Regions from separate parts of the Homo sapiens genome. Here all the other regions are linked to region 2. Evidence: promoter capture Hi-C in 16 types of primary human blood cells and fetal thymus (Javierre and others, 2016). All regions are on one chromosome and are shown on one strand. Each heading gives the region's core, a stretch centred on a gene start or on the middle of the fragment in contact. The rest is flanking DNA. Distances are from core to core; before and after follow the strand shown.

Region 1 (3,025 bases), core at 269-2,768, 5.5 Mb before region 2:
CTTTAAGTACAACAACGTACAACAAAACCATTTATTTTCTCACCATTTCATTATAATGAAAACGACATTATTTGATGGACCTGCTTTACACTGTTTCACTTAAAGTAGCAGTTTCCAAGAGCCTATCAAGGACGTCAGGACTCGCTGAACACTTCTCCCAAACCAGCAGCCTGGAACCATGGATATCCATCAAGAGGGGAAAGTAGCACTCAAAACCCAAACATTCAAATCTTAAGAGCACTGGGAAGTGGACAGATGCCACCCACCTCTTTTTCAAAGGAACGGAAGGGCCTACCTTCAGCCAAAACAATGTAAGGCTCTTTGGTCTGGAAAAATAAATGCTGAGTGTGAATTTTGTTGAAGTTTACAAAACTATAATGCACAAAAAAAGGATAAAAATAAGCTTATCAACCACTGAAATTTTAAACCTATGAATGATCCCCTGAAGTTTGAAAGTGACGCAATTCCTAAGCTAAAGGATTACATAACAATTAGTGAGTTTAAAATGTAAAAATGGTTCAAGAAAATTTTAATACACTGATCAACAAAACTGGAACTTTGATGGATTACATTTCTAACCTTGTTATACTGTATTTACAACCTTGAGGCTAACCCTATCTTATCAAAACATCTCTCAGTATTATCTTGGGACACAGATTAGTGAGCTGAATAGACCAACATAGGTGCAATCCTGAATAACATTATTCATTCTGGTAGATGAAATACATTCATTCATCAATTAATTTTCCTAAATAATCTAAAATTTGGCTCAATTTATGTTTTTTGTAATAAACCTACAAGCAAGAAAAAAATTAAGCCAAACCATCACAAAATTTACCAAAAATGGCACCGATGCCAGATTTCTTTTGAAGTCTATCAGAGTACCACTCTCAACACACTTCTTCCTCTCTATCCCACAAATTCTTAAATAATCTGGAATCCATAGCTCAGCTTCATGTGGTCTGTGTATGTGAAATAATATATAGGAATGAATGCATGGTACATTTTTCTGGGGAAGGAGTCCACTGATTTCATTAAATTTTTTAAGGGTATCCAAAAAAGCTTCAGAATCACTTCTGTACAACCTTTCCCTGGCTACAATTACTACCTATTTCCTGATAACTCCCAAATCTCCATCTCTATCCCAGATTTCTATGCCCAAAAATTTATAACCAACTGCTGGGTTAGGTGTGGTAGTTCATGCCTGTAATCCCAATACTTTGGAAACTTGAGGTGGGATGACAGCTTGAGCTCAGGCGTTCAGGAACATTCTGGGCAACACAGTAAAATAGTCTCTACCAAAAATGTTAAAAAAAAAAAAAGTCAACTGGGTGTGGTGGTGCACGCCTGCAGTCCCGGCTACACAAAGAAAGCTGAGGCAAGAGGATCATTGGAGTTGGAGGCTGAAGTGAGCTACAATTGCACCACTGGGCACCAACCTAGGCAACAATGTGAGATCCTACCTCTAAAAAATAATAATAAATTAAAAATAAATAAAAATATAACCAAATACATGTTGTACATCTTCTCCTGCATACTTGGCAGAAATCTCAAACTTACCATATCTTAAACAGACCTCATCATCTTCCCAACCTAACCTGTTGCTCCTCCTGTGTCTCCCTGTCTCAGGGACCAGCATCACCATCCACTCAGTTTGGTGGGCGAGAGAAGTTCCTGTGACTTCACCTTCCAATGACAGAATCCTAACAATTCTATCTACTAATTATCTCTTAAGCATTACCACTTCTCTCCACTCCTTCCAACTCTGCCACAATCTTAAGCCGGTCACAATCATCTTACCTGGACTGTGGCAGTTTTCTCCTAACTTGTTTTCCTGTCTTCTGTGTAGCTCCCCTGCAAAATTCACTCTCCATGCTCCAGTCAGGCCAGACCCTTTCTGATCTGGCTGAGTTTGGGCCTTGCTTAATTCACACTGTGTTCCAGAAAACACATCAGTGCATCATATTCTGGTCTTTAAGCTTCTGTATAGGCAACATCCTCTGCCTGAAACAAACTACTCTACGAAAGTTAACTCCCAATCAACTTTCAGGTTTCAATGTAAATATCATCTTTCTATTAAAGAGGCCTTTCTTGATCCCACCTCTTGACTCAACACCACCATGAGGACTAATTTAAATATCTATGTGTTCCTATAGCAGCACCCTATGCTTATCACCACCACAGCAATCAACACCGCATTGAAATGTCCTTTTGCAATATCCACGGTCACTTTAAAATGGAAGCATTATGAAAATATATTATCCACCAATATCCCTAGCACTTAGGACAGTGCCTGACACATACAATAAAAGTAGGCAAGCAAATATGTTTATATGTTTGTGTAAATAAACTGCTGTTTGCATTTCCTAGGCATTTAAACATATCCAATGCAGGAATGCTGCCTCTAACTGAAATAGCGTCTGAGGACAAACCAAGACATTAACTTTTCAATATCTGGTGACTAAAAAAAGCCACATTTCTGTTTAACAGTTAAAAGAAAAACACATGCTCCCTTAGCAAATGTGACCCACTCAAATACCTGCTGAAAAGATGTCCATTGCTCTCTTCAACTCTCCTCTTGTTCTCTGATTGCTATTTAAGTCTACAAGCGGAGTTGAAGGATCTCTCATATATTCTAACTCAGTGGCAAACATCCCACCATCAACAAAACGTTCAGGAGCAATATAGCAAGTTCTCCTCCGTGATGTGTCAAAGAAATAATTGAAATCTGCCGGGTTGTCTTCTGGAAGATAAGTGGGCTTAAAACTGGCAAAATCAGTTAGAAGAACCCAATTCCAACTGGTGACCATCACATTCTCAGTCTTGATGTCCCCATGACGAACTCCAGATTTGTGTGCTTGGTCCACAGCTGTCAGGATCTGGAAAGCAATCCAGCGCTTCTCAATGTTATTCAAGAATGGACGGGTACTGATGCGATCATAGAGATTGTCTCGCACATACTGCCTAAAGAGCATAGCTGCTTTCTCAGATGCTTTTTCTGATGCTTTCTGGAAAGGTAGACAAT
Region 2 (3,304 bases), core at 568-3,067:
ATCAGCTTAGCCCACCACTCCCACGTAACACCAGTTTGGGGAAATGCAAACACGCCACATGTGCCCACATGTGCATGTTTTGATCATGTTTAACCACTTTTAACCGCCGTAGGTACGTAATCAGCTCCCGCGGCAAAGGTTTAAGAAAAAAAAAAAAAAAGCCTTGTGCATGCATCTTACCCCCACTTAAACCACCACCACCAGATGAACCGAGGCGAATTAAACCATTTTGAACGTTAACGCCGCTGCACAAAGCGGTATGAAAGGGTTCTCTGCCTTTCTGAAACGCCGGGCAAAAGTCCCTCAGCAAGTTTCAAAACTAATGACCGTACAGCGCTGCACAAATAACAAAAGCTTAATACCAACCACCAGGCCGTCAACCCGCTCACGTTACCACTGCCCAGAAGGCTTTTAAAAACAAGCATTGAAAAGGGAACAATAAAAAGCGTCTCACCGCAAACACAGCACGAAAGGGACTGTCGGAAGTAAGGCAAGAGCCTGTTAATCTCAGTAAACGCCTTGGGGTCTCCGGGGTCGTAGTTGAGCACTAGGCGGCTCGCGGAAATGTAGAGAGCAGTAGCATTCACGGGGTTCATTGCAGACACTTCGACACCAATGGCTCCCGGTTGAAAAGAAATTCCGGATCCAACTTAGTAAGCAGCCAGGGAACGATGGCGAATTTGCAACAATTCGGAAGAAATCAGAGCCGAACCATTGGCCAAACAAGTAACCAAAATCCGTGCAAGTTTGTGGAGCTGAAACAATCCTCCCACACATGGGGCCTTGGCGCCCCTCCGTCCCTGAGACTTCCAGACCAAAAATATGAGAGAGAAACCAGCGTTCGAGTTCGTCCGGAGCGACCACAGAGCGCAGAACGCGGCGGCTTGGGCGCTCGGGGCGGGACTCGGAGCTCAGTCTAGCCCCGCGGCTCGGCAGGCGGCCTGCACTCGAGCTCCATCTCCGGACACGGAGGCGCCTCCTCAAGTCGAGCTGGCAGGCGCGGGAGCAGGCCCCGGCCCCGTCTGAGGCGCGGCACGCTTCTCCCGGGCTGCAGGGCCTCTTACTCCATCCCAGTACAGGGCGCGGAGGCGGCGGCGACGGCAAGGACGACGGTCGGGCAGCGGCTTCCCGGATCTAGTGCAAGACGCCGCGGCGGCGACGAAGGTTGATGTTGCGGCTGGCGGACGCCGCCGCCGCGCTCTCCATATCGGACGCGGGGCCCAGACTGCGCCCTGGCTCTCCGCCCCGTGGGTTGCAGCCCGCAGTTCCCCGAGGTGGCGAGGCGGGCGGGAGTCCTCAACCCGGAGGGGAAGGCCGGGGAGGAAGTGCGCGGGCCGCCGCCGGCGGGCGGGAGGGGGCGGGGGGCAAGCCCGGCCGGGCCGCGGCGGCGCCCCTCGCGCCTCAGTCGCACACTCCGGGGTCACCAGACTCAAGCGCCGCCCCCTCACTGCCCGGCCATTTTTTCGGCGCCACACACACAGACGACTCCTCCGCCGAGCACGACGGCCGCCGCCGCCCTCAGCACTCCCCGGCCGCGGAAGGCAAGCGCTCACACCGCCAGGCCCCGCCGCCGCCCAGCGCACACAGCAAGGCCCCGCCGCAGGCCCCTCCCCCGTGCCTCGCCGCCCTCACCCCGACTCCACGCGCCACTCCAGCTCGGTAGGGCCCGGGCTGCTGCGGCCTTAATGGATCCCGCGGGCTGTGTGGCGCCTCAGGCCTCTGCTGGCGGCGACGACGACCGTTACCCCAACGGGCAAAGCCACTGTCATCCCCGAGACTCCCCCGCCGCCGTCGTCGCTAGCGCTCGCACGCATGCGCAGAGCACACTCTCACCCCTCCCCCCTTTCCTCTCCCTTCGCTTCCCTTTTCCCTTGCTTCTCCTCTAACAACCCCCTCCACAGCCTCCCAGAGCTACCGGCTCACTCCACGCATGCGCAAGCTGCTACCTAGCTCCGCCGCCTTTCGCCCTTCCGCGTGCGCTTTGACCGCCCACCCAGAAAACCGGATAAACACATCAGCCTGCTCGCGCCAGTCCCTCACCGCTGCCAACCCACCCTGGGCTCACTGCGCATGCCTGGCTCTCCACTTCGACTCTCAGAATGGAGCATGCTCTCTGCGAGCCGACAGCTCTCTTCGCCCCTCCCCCACGTGCTCTCAAATTCCCTCTCCCAGGCATGTGGGCTGTGGTGAAACATTCGTTAGCTGGCACATCCTTCCCCAGTGTGGGCTGCAGGCTTCCCGCATTACACTGCTTCTGTGCCCGCCAACGCCGGGGCCCGACTTGGTAGCGCCATGTGGCGCTCTGCACTGGCCTGAACGCGGCCTCTCGTCCTGACTGACCGCGGTGTGAGGAAATAGCCGCGCCAGGCCCCAAGCCCCGCCCTCGCGGCCTTTCTCCTGGAACCGCTCATCCCGACCGCGGAAAGGGCGCAGCCTCGGCTGGCTGGCAGGCTCTCGCCGAGCCGGGAAGGCTGCAGTAGTCAACGTGGCTGCGCGCCCAGCAGGCGTGCGGACGGCTTTTGCCGGGTCGGGGCCGCGTTCCGCACCTCTCTGCGGTGGTTCGCAGTCAGAGGGCTCTAAGGCCCTGGCAGGCTGTATGTAAGCGTGGAGGCTCGAACCCACTGCCCCCTCCTACCCGTCGGACCCGCGCTGTTCCCACGGCCTCTGGCCCTTGGACTCGTGCGGCCTCACCTTCATGGGTGCCGATCAGGACTTCACCGAGCTCTCACCGGAACAGAGTCCTGTTTTAAAAACAAAACGAACTCCTTTTTTTTTTTTTTGAAAGACCTAGCTTTTTTAAAAGACCTAGCTCTTCTGTGTGAACAGATGTCTTGAAGAATGCGTGATCTTGCTCTAGAACAAACCCAAATCCTTGCAAATGTTTTGTTTTTTAAAACAAGCTTTTGCCTTTTGTTTTTGCAGGAGATCAAGGGCACTGGGATATAAATAAACAAAAGCCTGACTTAGTAGATGACTTCCCTCCCATCTCAAAGTACAAAACCTTTTTTTGAGTAGCACAAATAGTAACAGGCCATAGGAAGCATTTCTTATCTCTGTACACACCAAAGCTCCTCAGCATAATTTTTCATGCACAGTAGGTACTCTATACGTTTGCAAAGTGAAAATTATGATGCGTGTAAATCTATTGTGGCACATGTTACATATGTACACAGGCACGTATATGGAACATGTAAATGTGGTACGTGTTAGTTACAAGCTGCCACTTGAGGTGAGTAGGAATAGTTAAGATATCAAGGGAACACATATAATCTCGATTTATAATTTCTATTACCATTTGAAGACA
Region 3 (3,023 bases), core at 412-2,911, 5.3 Mb after region 2:
GTATAATAAAAAAAAAAAAAGAGCGAGTTAGCCTTATCTGTAATGGTTTGATTTCCTATAGGGAGTATATTTATATATTATATTATCAAAAGTAACTATTTATATAAATGAACTTGATACAGTATTAATCTTAAGCTGTGCCAGTCTCTGTTGCTCTACTTTGGAAGACTATCCTATCTGCAAAACAAGAGTAATCAAATGTTAGGTTTTGTAACATTTTGAGTGCTATAGAAGAAATAAAGTCAACTTTTCTGTTAAGTTTTTTTGGTAACTTTTGATATAATTTCAAACTTACAAATTGTAAGAATAGGCTGAGGAGGGTGGATGGCTTGAGCTCAGGAGTTTGAGACCAGCCTGGGCCACATGGCAAAACTCCGTTTCTACAAACGAAAAAAAAAAAAAAATGCCAGGCATAGTGGTGTGTGTCTTCAGCCCTAGCTATTAATACTTGGAATGCTGAGGCCAGAGAATCACTTGAGCCCAGGAGGTTGAGGCTGCGGTGAGCTGAGGTCGCACCACTGCACTCCAGCCTGGGTGACAAAGTGAGACCCTGTCTCAAAAAAAAAAAAAAAGTAGAAATAATACAGCAAATTCTTATATACTTTGCCTGTTTGACTAATTGTTTATGTTAGAAAAACTTTTTAAAATTTTAATACATTGTTTCAGAGAAATGTGGTAAAAAGGGTCTGAAAATTTTGGATCCTTTAAAATATGACATTTGTGTGAGTGGTACAGAATTTTAGTTTTGAATTTTACAGTTTTATATAAAATATTCTTGGTAGATGGGGTGAACTAATGTTTATTGAGTATTTCCTGGTTTCCAGATGTTGTGTTAGGATACTTTGCAAAATATTTCATGTAATCCAATTTCATGAAGAAGATTGTTATTCCTATTTTAGAGAAGAAGCAACAGACAGAGGTTATTTGCTCAGGATTGTAAGGGAGCAGAGCCAAGTTTTCAGAAAGTCTTTATGTTACCAAAGCCCACATCCCTTTCTCTACAAAGCTGCCTGTGAGATGATATATTGGAAGGAATTGATGAATACATTTATGTTGTCAAGAAGTTGATAATTACTCCTAAATTGGCTATGGTCTAATGTAGTGGATATTCAATAAAATTATGATGTTTGAATGCCATAAGAATTTATCTTCTGGCCTGTTTTGGGGGTTCATGAATGTAATTATTTTAGCTGCCTAACTGCTTATGTGGGTTTGTATGTACTTTTGAGTGGTTCTTGGATATGTGTACACACATACATACACACACACAGATATACACATACACACCTTTATATGCTCATGGGTGTAACTTCTTTATGTGTCTAGGTGTCTTTTTTTTGTGGAGGGGGGGCGAAGATCAATATGAATCCTATTTTGGCCCCCTGGATGCTGTCACCAGAAATAACAGCCATATCCCATATATAGCCTGTCCATGTAGCCCTGAGTTCTGCCAGCACCTGGCTTTTTGCCTTCCTTTTGTTTGTCATACCAGGCTCTCTTGGTCACCTTGGTAGCCTTGCTAAGCTTCTTGTAGCTATAGGTACCATTGGCTTAGCCCAGAAGAGATTCCTGCCATATGTACTTCAGAGTTTGGTTTGCCACTTGAGGAAGGGGTCTGTAGGGAGCTTGTAGATCAGCACACATTCAAAACTGAAACCGGAAGTGGGCAAGGCAAACCACAGGAAGATCCTGCCCGCAACTTGGTGACGTATCTATATAACCCATAGACACTTCCTGGCAATACCTTGTGAAACTTGCCTTTTCGTGTATAGTAGTTTCCTAACTTCTTGTTCTAGATTAAGCTTCAGTGAAAAGTGATTAATATGATAGCAGTGTAGATAACTGTATGATAGTTATTGTGCACATGACTTCCATGCAGCAACTAGCCCCGATTATGTTCTGTAGACTTTATCACTGAGGAGTTGCAGTGGTATTTATGCGTTTACTTTGACTTTGTCTTGTCACTAGCCATTGTCTTACTTATGTGTAATTGTACTTATATATAGTTCAGGTTTTATACCCACAAAAACCCTTGTGATATAATACCACTATACAGGATTGCCTTATTTATGTGGAATTGTACTTATATATAGTTCAGGTTTTATAGCCACACACACACACACGAAAAAACAGTTCTTTGCTTCACTGAGTCTCGGCTAGCCACCCAAACTGTGTCATATTCCTAGAGTCCTGTGCCCACTCAAGTGTTTGCTCACTGGTACTACCTCATTTTATCATAGTGCCTTGTTCTTAGGCAGAACCAGATTTCTGGTAGGAGTTATTTAATGTGTTGATTTTTTTTTTGAGACGGAGTCTCCCTCTGTCACCAGGCTGGAGTGCAGTGGTGCGATCTCAGCTCACTGCAACCTCCACCTCCCAGGTTCGACAATTCTCCTGCCTCAGCCTCCCGATTAGCTGGGACTGCAGGTGCACGCCACCACATCCAGCTAATTTTTGTGTTTTTAGTAGAGGCGGCATTTCGCCATGTTAGCCAGGATGGTCTCGATCTCCTGACCCGCCCACCTCGGCCTCCCAAAGTGCTGGGATTACAGGCATGAGCCACCGTGCCTGGCCAATGTGTTGTTTTTTTAAAGATTACCAATCGAGTGGGATTATAGACTCTTGGATTATTTTACAGATACAAGTCATTTGCCAGGAGTGAGGAAAATTGCTTGACAACTGAGTTATCTCACCATGTTAATTTATGCATTGGAAAACTCTGCTTAGTGGTAGATATTCCAGCAGTCACCATATGCCTATTGGTACTATTTCTCATTCTCTGTCTGATTAATGTCACAAATGTGTAACTTTCCAGTGGTGTTTTCAAGATGACAGTTAAGGAGCCACTAAGGAAGGAAATAACAGCTACATAACTTTTTTCTTTTCAGTAGTTCTTGACAGTCCCCCCTCCTTTTTTTGTTTTTGTTTCTTCATACCCTGCAGCAATCTGATGTACTCTGAAGGGGGTAAATTTGAGACTCTTTGGAAGGTCATGTGTGATAAAGACAGTTCTTCTCTTCCTT
Region 4 (2,977 bases), core at 260-2,759, 5.0 Mb after region 2:
CTCATTCTTGGATCTAACACCAACCTTCAGGCCTTCAGAGATCCAGCAGTATCATTTTGAGCTTTTAACCGTAAAATAAAATGAAGCTCTTACTTGCTGTTTGTTCTCTGCAGACATAGGAGAATCTAGTTAGAATTAAACATTTACTGTCTTGTTAAGGCTTTATGCTTCTAAAATGAAAGTGGCAGTTGGATTACCGTAAAGTTAGTAAAGTTGTAGAACAAATTTTTGGAAGCTCAGAAATAATAATGGAGGGACTTACAGAAATAAACTATTAAGCTTAAATCTTAAAACATAGATATAAATATGAACTATCTTGAAAGTATAGAAAATTTGGCAAGTATAGATTAATAAGTATATAATATTTTATGCAAGTTATATTAATTATTAGGATCATGCATTATGTTTATACAGTACCTTACTATATAAAAAAGCAACTTTGTCCATATCTCATTTGATTCAATAAGCCTGCGATCTGCTTAGAGATGGGGAGATGGGACCTTGGGATGGTTAAAAGGCTTCCTCTAGAATTCAGATCTCATAAGCAGAGAAATACTATGTAAACCTGGATATCCCTGCCCACGTTGCTTGATAACCAAATGTGGTTACATAGTTTTTTGAAAATTGTAGGTGGTCCTATTCTTAGGGATAAAAATAGGCATTGGTTTTCTCTAAAACTTTCTGCAAGTCAAACAAACAAACAAAAACTCTGTATGTAGCACCCAGAAACCTGAAAGGACTTCTCAAGGTTTGTAGATGTCAGAGGTTCTCTGTTGATGACTTCCTAATACTAGAGTACCTGAGTTGGTTGTGTATTCAGCACAGTGCAGTGATTGAGTGTGTACATTCAGAGGCCAAACTGACTTTAAACCCTGGCTCTACCATTACTAGCAATGTACCCTTGAACAAGTTACTTCTCTGTGCCAGTTTCCTTATTTGTAAAATTTGGGTGGTGATAATAATACCTACTTCATGGTACTGTTGTGAAACTGAAATATAATAATACATGATGAGGGCTTAGAAAAGCACCTACCACATGGTACATGCTTTAAAAATGTTAGCTGCTATTCCTATTCATTTGTTTCTTAAAATTACCTTTTAGGCGCCAACTGACTGCACTGAGATGATGGATACAGGATAATAGTCTCTGTCCTCATGGAACAGAGGACATTATATTTCAGTTTGTGGTGAAGGACATGAATGGCGGTGCAGATCGATTTCCAGGCACTTGCTCACTTACAGCCATGAGAGGCTGTGAAGGGGCTGACCATGGGGTGGTGACCTTGCCAGCTCTTTGAAACAGGCACTCATTTTGACTCATCTGTGTCTGACACATGCTGGTTGTTTTAACTGTCACTCTTGGCCACAGGTTGTTAGTGGGAAGCATGATAAGAGATCCTAGATCTGTTTAGTCACCTGGTTTTGCCAACACTATTTTTGGTCCTGGTTGACAGAATGCTGCCCTGGCTACTATTTTGGACTGGACTGGCTCTTCAGCAGCCCCAGAAACCTTTGGTACTATCAGAGACCCAGTTCTCTGAGCAAGAAATGGCACAGCTGCTCCTGAGAGCAGGTAGGGGACTAGCCAGAGGCAGGAAGCCAGAACACTGCATTTCCTGTGTCTGCCGTAGCTAGAAACTTCTTGACCCAAAGAAACTATGTTGACGGGCATGGGTTTCCTAACTGGTGCTGGAAAGAGAGGACCTTCCTCCTCAGACCTCGCTTTGCTTGCTCTGTGCGTCCTACAGAGAGGCTCCAGCATGGCAGCCTGCCCGACTAGCACCTGCCATCACGGAGCTGGCACGGCCTCCAGCAATGGGCTGTCGACCAGAAAATCCTTCTGTGATTGCTGCTTCAGGAACTCGAGTGCTTCTCTGCCTCGTTTGAGCGTGATTAGCCCAGCTTGTACTCAACATACACTGGAATACTTCATACCGATAAGTCAGCAGTCAGACTGGAAAACCAGTCATCAGTTATCTTAGTGGCAACCAGCTTATTTTTATTTACTTTAAACTATGGTTGACCCTTGAACAACTCAGGGGTTAGGAGCACTGATTCCCCCCACCATGGCCCCCCACAGTTGAAAATCCAAGTATAACTTTTAAATCCCCAATATTGTAACTATACATAGCCTACTGTTAGCCAGAAGCCTTACTGATAATGCAGTCAGTTAACACATATTTTGTATGTTGTATGTATTATATGCTGTATTCTCACAATAAGCTAGAGAAATGAAAATGTTATTAAGAAAATCATAAGGAAGAGAAAACATTTCCTATTCGTTAAGTGGAAGTGGATCATCATAAAGGTTTTATCCTCATTGTCTTCACATTGAGTAGGCTGAGAAGGAGGAAGAGGAGGGGTTGGTCTTGCTGTCTCAGGGGTGGCAGAGGCGGAAGAGAACCTACGTGTAAGTCGACCTGCTCAGTTCAAATCCGTGTTGTTCAAGGGTAGACCTATGTCCTGGAAATTTTAAATGAAGTTTTGTCTTAAAAAAAAAAAAAAAACCTTGCCCCACACTTGTAAAACAAAGAAACAGCAAATAATGCCAACCTTTTGTATGTAGGGAGAATTAAGGTAAAAGGGGGAAAACCCTTTCTCTGTTTTACAAATGGCTCCCCAGGTGCTCTGACTTCTCTGGTCATGATCATCTCTTGATTTCCCAGACTGGAACCTCTTTTGTCGCCAGTGTGTCTGTCTCCGTTGCAGTCCCTAATGGAAACACAGACCTGAAAAATCAAAGCTTGGGCATTTATGGTCGAAGGTCATGGCATGGATGGTTGATTTTTTTTGGCTCTGTCTTCAAAGTGAAAAATCACTGTCTTCTTTGAGAAAGAAAGTATATTTTGGGAGGTGGCTAACGTCAGCAGGCAGGAAGATCTAAGCAAGCCTGTCTCATCCTCGGTTCACATAATTTCTAGCATTGCTAAGTTAGCAGCATATGATTTTTTTTCTCTTGTGCATCTTGCTCTAATGA
Region 5 (3,263 bases), core at 262-2,761, 5.3 Mb before region 2:
ATTATACAGTTCTTAAAAACGTGTGGGGTTTTCTGTCCCGTTATTCTTGACCATCAAGAGACCATTTTTGTCAGTTTCTCCCTATCGTCACATTTTTTTTTATATATAAACAGTTTGAAGAAGAGCCTGTATATAGCCTAGAAATTTTCAAAAGTGACTGACCATATTAAACTACATAGATTGATACCTGTGCCTTTTTATTGTTCACTTGCCTTTTTGTAGTTTTCATCCTTCTTTGATATAGTGTAGTATTAACAATTTGGAGGTGTGAAACAAAAATGGATTCAAGTCTTGACTAACTTGTCTTGAACCACTTAAAGCTGTGTGATTTTAAGTAAATTACGTCACCTTTCTGAGCCTGTATTTCTTCATCTATAAATTGGGATTGATAATCTTTAACTCACAGAATTGAGAGGATTAAATGAGAAACCCTGTATAAATTCTCTTGTGAGGTAGGAATGATAACGTTTAAGAGCTTGAGTTGTGGTGGAACCATGCAGACTGATTTGAATGCTGGATTCGTCGCTTACCATTTGGCTTTGTGCATATTAAAGTTTTCTGTGCTTCCGTTTCTTCATAAAATAAAGATAATGATAGAACCTACCTTATGAGGTTGTTGTAAACATTCAAACAGTATCTGGCACATAGTAAGTGCTCGGTAAATGTTAATTATAAATTGCCTAGCTGAATGTTTGATACATACTAATAGGCCACCTGGCATTAATATTGTCATGACAGTTAAATGTTGGAAGGGGGAACAGTAGTAGCCAAATGCTCAAAATGAAGTTGTCATTGTTAGTTGAGGGATAAGTGGAGTTAGGTAAGGAATTTTCTATGGCATTAGTGCTTTTAAGCCTACAGAAAAAGTTAGGGCTCTACCAAGAAGCCAGGGTCCAGTACAGAAAGAGACAGGTTTGGATTTGAAGCCCGACAAGTAATGTTTTCCTCTCCTGAAAAATCTGACAAGTTACTAGGCTTCTAAGCTTTCTCAGCCTCTAAGTTATCTCATCTGTAAATGAGATAATGCCCTCTTGCAAAGTTGATGTGAGTAATAAATGAAGCCGCCAGAGCAATGTTTGACATACAGTTAACTTGGATGAATTGAGTGATGCTGCTGTTCCCTAGTAAGAGTATCCTCCAGTAGGTATGCAGGTAGTTACATTTGTGGGTGTGAACAGTGTAGAATTGATAGTGTTTCCCTAGAGCATCAGCATGAAGGTTTCTTAGGTAGCTTACAGTGGTGTGGGGAGGAAATGGTTTCATCCATGTGTTGGTTCCTTCAGCAATGGTGGTATTTTCTTTGGCACTTCGGTTTAGATTCTTCTGGACTTTTTTCCTAGGGCCCATTTAAACTTTCTCAGCAAAGCTTGACCAATTTTTAGCTGTAGACTCCAGGATGTTTCATGAACACTTTCTGCTTGTCACTAGGAACGTTTAAAATGTTAATTTCCTGGAATTTTTGGACTACTTAACATTCAGTCGTGAGTTAGGATTTTATCCAGATCCTTTGGAATTTGTTTTTACATGTTTATCACAAATCTAAACAGATCCCGCTTAGGCATCTTGAGATGCACAAGTAAACAGCTCTTACCTGATTTTTAAAAGTTAATTGCATGTTTAAAGTGATAGCTTACTAGAAAAGATATGTCTAGCTGGAGAAGCTTGCACATAGGTTTTCCTTTCTAGTAATGGATTTATTTTTTGGAATAAATTTGGCCTTTCCCATAGAAAATTCAGTGTGACTTTAATACACATGAAACTTTAATATAGCCTTAAATGTTTGACTAGTGGATAGAAATGTAATAGTCTTCAGGATTTCAGGACATGGTTAATTTAAGATTATAGACAGAGCTAATAGGTGTAGAGAACAATGCCCCAATCTTTTTTGTTTGAAAATGGTTGTATTTACACTTTACTTTTAAAAGCAGTTTCTTAATTCAATTTCAAATTGTTAATCAGCTAGGAATGTCTCAAGAAAAAATTGCATTACTATAGTTGGAGAAGCTATAGGGAAAAAGGGATGAGAAGCCACCTTAATTTTATTCCTTTAACTGAAAATAGGAAACCAGGTTATAAAAATATATCTTTGGGTGTGGGAAATATAGTTTATGTTGTTTGCAGTTTTGTCCATAAAATGATAGTCTTAATTAGTACTCTGAAAAAGAGTTGAAACTAAAAGAGATTATATATATGACATTTTGTAAACTGTAGTAATTTAAGCCAGAGGATGCTGTAGAGAGTACTTGTATGCAATAACCTTCTGACAGTTGGATTCCAAATACTTGATTTGTCTTCATATTTTTGTCATTCATTTAAAGTCAGCAGAATTCAGGTCTGTTAACGCAAAGCATTATGAAACAAAATAGTTTCCTAGGGAACACACCCCTAGGGGCCCAGGACTGATTTTGGAGATCTTAGTTAGCCATGATCTGTTTTGCAAGGTTAAATTTTGTTTTAAAGGTGCCAGGAACACTGTGGCTTGATGGTAAAGTTAGCATGAATTTTAAATTACACCGTTGTTACATGTAGCATCTTAAAATATCTTAAGGATCAGTTCAAGAGGTCCCCTCACATTTACTTTGTTGAAACAAATTCTTTTTAATAATGGTTTCAGGCATCAGTTGTGACAAGGTTATCTTTATGCTTTTCATGTAGACAAATGTTGGTAAAAGGCAGTAAAGGGTGCATCCTGAGGTTAATGCCATCATTTCATGAAAGAAAGGATCTCTCAAAAAAAAGGCTAAATTGATAATTTCCTCTTGGATGTATATGACTGCTACTTATATGCATTTGTTAATACAGTTGACCCTTGAACAATGTGGGGGTTGGGGTGCTGACCCACCATGCAGTTGAAAATCTGCATGTAACTTTTAACTCTCTGAAAACTAAACTACTAATAGTCTCTACTGTTGCCTGGAAGCCTCACTGATAACATAAACAGTCAATTAACACATACTTTGTATGCTATATGTATTATATACTGTATTCTTGCAATAAAGTAGAGAAAAAAACTTACCAAGAAAATTATGAGGAGGAGAAAATATATTTATAATTCATTAAGCAGAAGTGGATCACTATAAAGGTCTTCATCCTCATTGTCTTCGCTTTGAGTAGGCTGAAGAAAAGGAGGGGTTGGTCTTGCTGTCTCGGGTGACAGAAGCAAATCTGAGTATAAGTAGACCTTTACAGTTGAAACTCATGTTGTTAAAGAGTCAACTGTGTATCTTCTGTCTTCAGGCTTTAAGTTGCTACGACAAAAGTAT
Region 6 (3,188 bases), core at 247-2,746, 5.2 Mb before region 2:
TCCCACTTTGGCCTTCCAAAGTGCTGGGCTTACAGGCATGAGCCATCTTGCCTTGGTTTAGTATATTTATAAACTTGTGCAGCCATCACTAATTCCAAAACATTTTCTTCACCCCCAACCAAAGAAACCCTGGGGGTTTAACAGTCACTCGCCAATGCCAAGAAGGCTCTTGGACTCACTGCCCAATGCCAAGAAGGCTCTTGCACTCATTCACTATGACATTCATCTCCTCCTGTCTGAGATGTGACTGAAGAGGAGGCTAAGAGGCTAGTTCCTGGTCAGCTGTATAGCCCAGGGAATGGCACTACTGATATTTTGGGCTAGAGATTCTTTGTTATGGGACACTTTCCTGTGCACTGTAAGACTTACAGGTTGTAAAATTTAGCAGCATCTTTGGCCTCTCCCCACTAGATACCGATAGCAACCACTACCCCTTCTACTCCCTAGGTAGGGACAACAAAAATGTCTCCAGGCATTGCCAGATGTCCTCTGGGGGACAAAATCACCAATGGTGATAAAGCTTTGGTGTAGACTGATAACAGTGCTGGGAGAACTCTGACAGAAAAGGAAGACCTGACTTAAATCCACTGGGAAGCTGTGGTTGCCGTCCTACATCCTTAAGTAGACTGGTGCCACGTGTGGTCTGTGAGTTTTGTGAGACTGAATATTTCATTGGATCTAAGAAGATCCCCTAATGGGCATTGCAATTGTTTTTTTTTTAAGTTATCTCTATTTAATGTCTAAATCTAGTTCTTTTATCAGCATAGTTTCATATCTATTTGTAATTTTAAATATATATGTAATATAAAAAGACAACACTGGGATCCATGAGAATTTTTTTCTCCTTGAAAAGGTGGTCTGGGTGTTACTCAGGTTTAAGCAACACTAAGTTAGACTAAGAGTCATGTTTTCTGTATCAAACTAGGCAAATAACCATAATGACACAAAAACCTATTTTAAAAAAGGTATTCATTAATAAAAGTTAAAAAATTAGACCTTAGCATCAGTACTAACCTTATCTGAAATCCGATGTAGTCTGAGATGTTGTGCCTATGATTAGTGTCTATACACTTTTTTTGCAGTTGTGAATTTTTTTCCTTTTTTTTTCAGCCACGTAACCCATTCTATTGATAGCTAGTATTAACCTGGTAGTAATAACAATATAGTAGTAATAACTGTGACGATAACACAGACTACTGAAGTACAGTGGAAATGGTAGATTTAGAGCTAAAAGAGCTAGGTTTGAGTCCTAGCACTGACACTTTCTGGCTAAGACATTACCTAGTTCACTCAAGTTCTAGATTTCTTAGCTACGACATGAGGGCAAGATAGCACTCAACCTCATCAGTTTGTTATAGTAAGTGAACTAATATAGAAGACAGCACTTTGTATCCTGTAAAGTACTTTACAAAAATTTCATTAGTATTACAAATACTTACCTCAGTCAATCTGCTTAAGTCAGAATGATCCTTGGCCAGTTCTACTGCATCAATGATTGAGGTTCTGATATTTTTATTAATCCTTTCCACTTCACTGAAAGCTAGAGGCTGAGGAGGCAATGCATTCCAGGATGTCTTGTCCAGATGTGGTGAGGCATTTAAAAGAAGCCCATAGATGATTTGCCTGATGGGCTGAGATATTCTGTGGGCATTTGGTTGCTGCATGTTTTCCACCTGTGTGGGAAGAATGGTCCGTCTTAGGACCAAAGCATCACTGATGAAAGGAGATAGCTGGCCTTTAGCTAAAGCCACTAATACCCATTCTGGTAAACCAAGATTCAAGGCATCTGGACAGACATAAGTACCACACTGGAAGAAGTCCTGTAGCTTCACCTGGGACTGTTGGTATTCTTCCATGGAACAGCAGAGAAGTTCCTTAACATTTTCTCGATCCTTTTTTGGGAGGTATTTCAGAACATTATCTAGTGCTTCGGTAGGGTTGGCAAAATGAGACAACCAATTCAGAAGTCCCAGGATTCGGTGGTGTCTCCTCCCTTTAGAACTGGTAGCTCCAAGAGGAAGACGCGCTTTACTTAAGAATGTCTCCATGATGGGTAGATTAACATGGTCATTTCCACATAGCACCGCAAAGAGAGGTAGTAGAGCTTTATTCATATTGCTGAAGTGATGGCAGAATGCATCAAGGGAAAAGCATTTGGCAGGGATATAGTTTTGTGTGCCCTTAATAGTGTTCATATTTCTCCACTGAAAGCTATTCAATGGGCAAAACCCAGTTTTCAGGTCAAAAATGCAAAAGTCACTATCTGATGATAACACAGGGCAATTCCAATGGTTAGCAAGTGTCATAATGTCCCGATCTGCTTCTGAAAAGCACTGGACAAAACACACCCGCAGCTTGATCAAAACCTGTATGAATACTTCCCGGATGAGTAAGGGACATACGTACCCACTCCCACCAACAGAAAGGGAATGGGCCATCTGGATCTTCTCTCTAGCTCTATCCTTTAAAGTTGTAAGCTTTTTATCTGAAATGTCACATCCTCCATCTAATACAACATATGGGCATATATTACAAGCAAACAGTGATTCAAAGAATTTTTGTACAACATCTGCAAAAGAATCATAGTCCCCTCCATACCGGAGATCCAAGTTTGAACTGAAGCAAAGACGGTGGAAAAGAGCATAACCATCAATGACAATTTTTGTGTCCCGCAACTTCAAATCAGTGAAGAACTCATTACTATGATCTTCCACAAAACTCATTAGTCCTCGGATACCCATGATGACAGTCTAAAGAATTAATCGCCTGTTTAAAACAACAGAAAACATTTTCAATTGATGCTAGTTATGGGGCACCAAGTCATTGCTTCCAGCACCATTAAATCAATAGCAAATGTTATGAAGTGCTCTTTAGATAGAACATAGATATCAACATCATAAATTCTTACCTAGATCCTCAAGCAATGTTAGCTGTGCTTTTTCATTCTCCTTTGCTTTCTGATACAAGGCACAAATTCAATGGTTTCATGGGTTGTAATCTTTGGATGGTGACAGAGGCTGCTGCTAATTCTAAAGAAAAATCAGTTGAAGTCCATTACTGACACACCAGTATAGAAGTTCTGTGAACTTTGATTCTTAAGTGGTAATAGTCAACATCTTACAGCACAGAGTATTTGTTTTGTGGGGTCAAAGTAAAAAGTCCTAAGCTAAAAAAAAGATATCATATTC

Evidence for each region. The method cuts DNA at HindIII sites, captures the fragments that hold promoters and counts their contacts. A CHiCAGO score of 5 or more calls a contact.
Region 1: a fragment that was not itself captured here is called in contact with the fragment with the promoter of MSL2 in region 2 in 1 of 17 cell types (total B cells); the score reaches 7.1 in total B cells.
Region 3: a fragment that was not itself captured here is called in contact with the fragment with the promoter of MSL2 in region 2 in 3 of 17 cell types (total B cells, non-activated CD4 T cells and total CD8 T cells); the score reaches 11.1 in total B cells.
Region 4: a contact is called between a fragment that was not itself captured here and the fragment with the promoter of MSL2 in region 2, in 1 of 17 cell types (non-activated CD4 T cells). The highest score is 6.5, in non-activated CD4 T cells.
Region 5: a contact is called between a fragment that was not itself captured here and the fragment with the promoter of MSL2 in region 2, in 1 of 17 cell types (total B cells). The highest score is 5.7, in total B cells.
Region 6: a contact is called between a fragment that was not itself captured here and the fragment with the promoter of MSL2 in region 2, in 1 of 17 cell types (naive B cells). The highest score is 5.8, in naive B cells.

Annotation. Positions count from the first base shown.
Region 1 is chr3:130,741,947-130,744,971 of GRCh38, forward strand. PIK3R4 (phosphoinositide-3-kinase regulatory subunit 4) reads right to left here. Exons shown (of 20, transcript NM_014602.3): 2 at 2,540-3,025. Among named protein-coding and RNA genes, the nearest start is that of PIK3R4, 3.4 kb to the right of the region's middle. The HindIII fragment of the contact is 917 bases long and covers 1,061-1,977 here.
Region 2 is chr3:136,194,518-136,197,821 of GRCh38, forward strand. MSL2 (MSL complex subunit 2) reads right to left here and starts at 1,818. Exons shown (of 2, transcript NM_018133.4): 1 at 455-1,818. The coding sequence starts at 596. RefSeq lists enhancers at 606-675, 726-775, 775-1,521, 826-895, 1,522-2,268 and 2 more and a silencer at 1,236-1,625. The HindIII fragment of the contact is 2,546 bases long and covers 353-2,898 here.
Region 3 is chr3:141,497,315-141,500,337 of GRCh38, forward strand. The region is part of intron 1 of RASA2 (RAS p21 protein activator 2); the gene reads left to right. Among named protein-coding and RNA genes, the nearest start is that of RASA2, 12 kb to the left of the region's middle. The HindIII fragment of the contact is 278 bases long and covers 1,523-1,800 here.
Region 4 is chr3:141,236,575-141,239,551 of GRCh38, forward strand. All of the region lies in intron 1 of PXYLP1 (2-phosphoxylose phosphatase 1), which reads left to right. Among named protein-coding and RNA genes, the nearest start is that of PXYLP1, 6.2 kb to the left of the region's middle. The HindIII fragment of the contact is 2,464 bases long and covers 278-2,741 here.
Region 5 is chr3:130,896,387-130,899,649 of GRCh38, forward strand. The region is part of intron 2 of ATP2C1 (ATPase secretory pathway Ca2+ transporting 1); the gene reads left to right. Among named protein-coding and RNA genes, the nearest start is that of ATP2C1, 3.9 kb to the left of the region's middle. The HindIII fragment of the contact is 295 bases long and covers 1,365-1,659 here.
Region 6 is chr3:131,022,566-131,025,753 of GRCh38, forward strand. ASTE1 (asteroid structure-specific endonuclease 1) reads right to left here. Exons shown (of 6, transcript NM_014065.4): 2 at 2,909-3,029; 3 at 1,440-2,766. The coding sequence starts at 2,741. Among named protein-coding and RNA genes, the nearest start is that of ASTE1, 2.7 kb to the right of the region's middle. The HindIII fragment of the contact is 1,957 bases long and covers 519-2,475 here.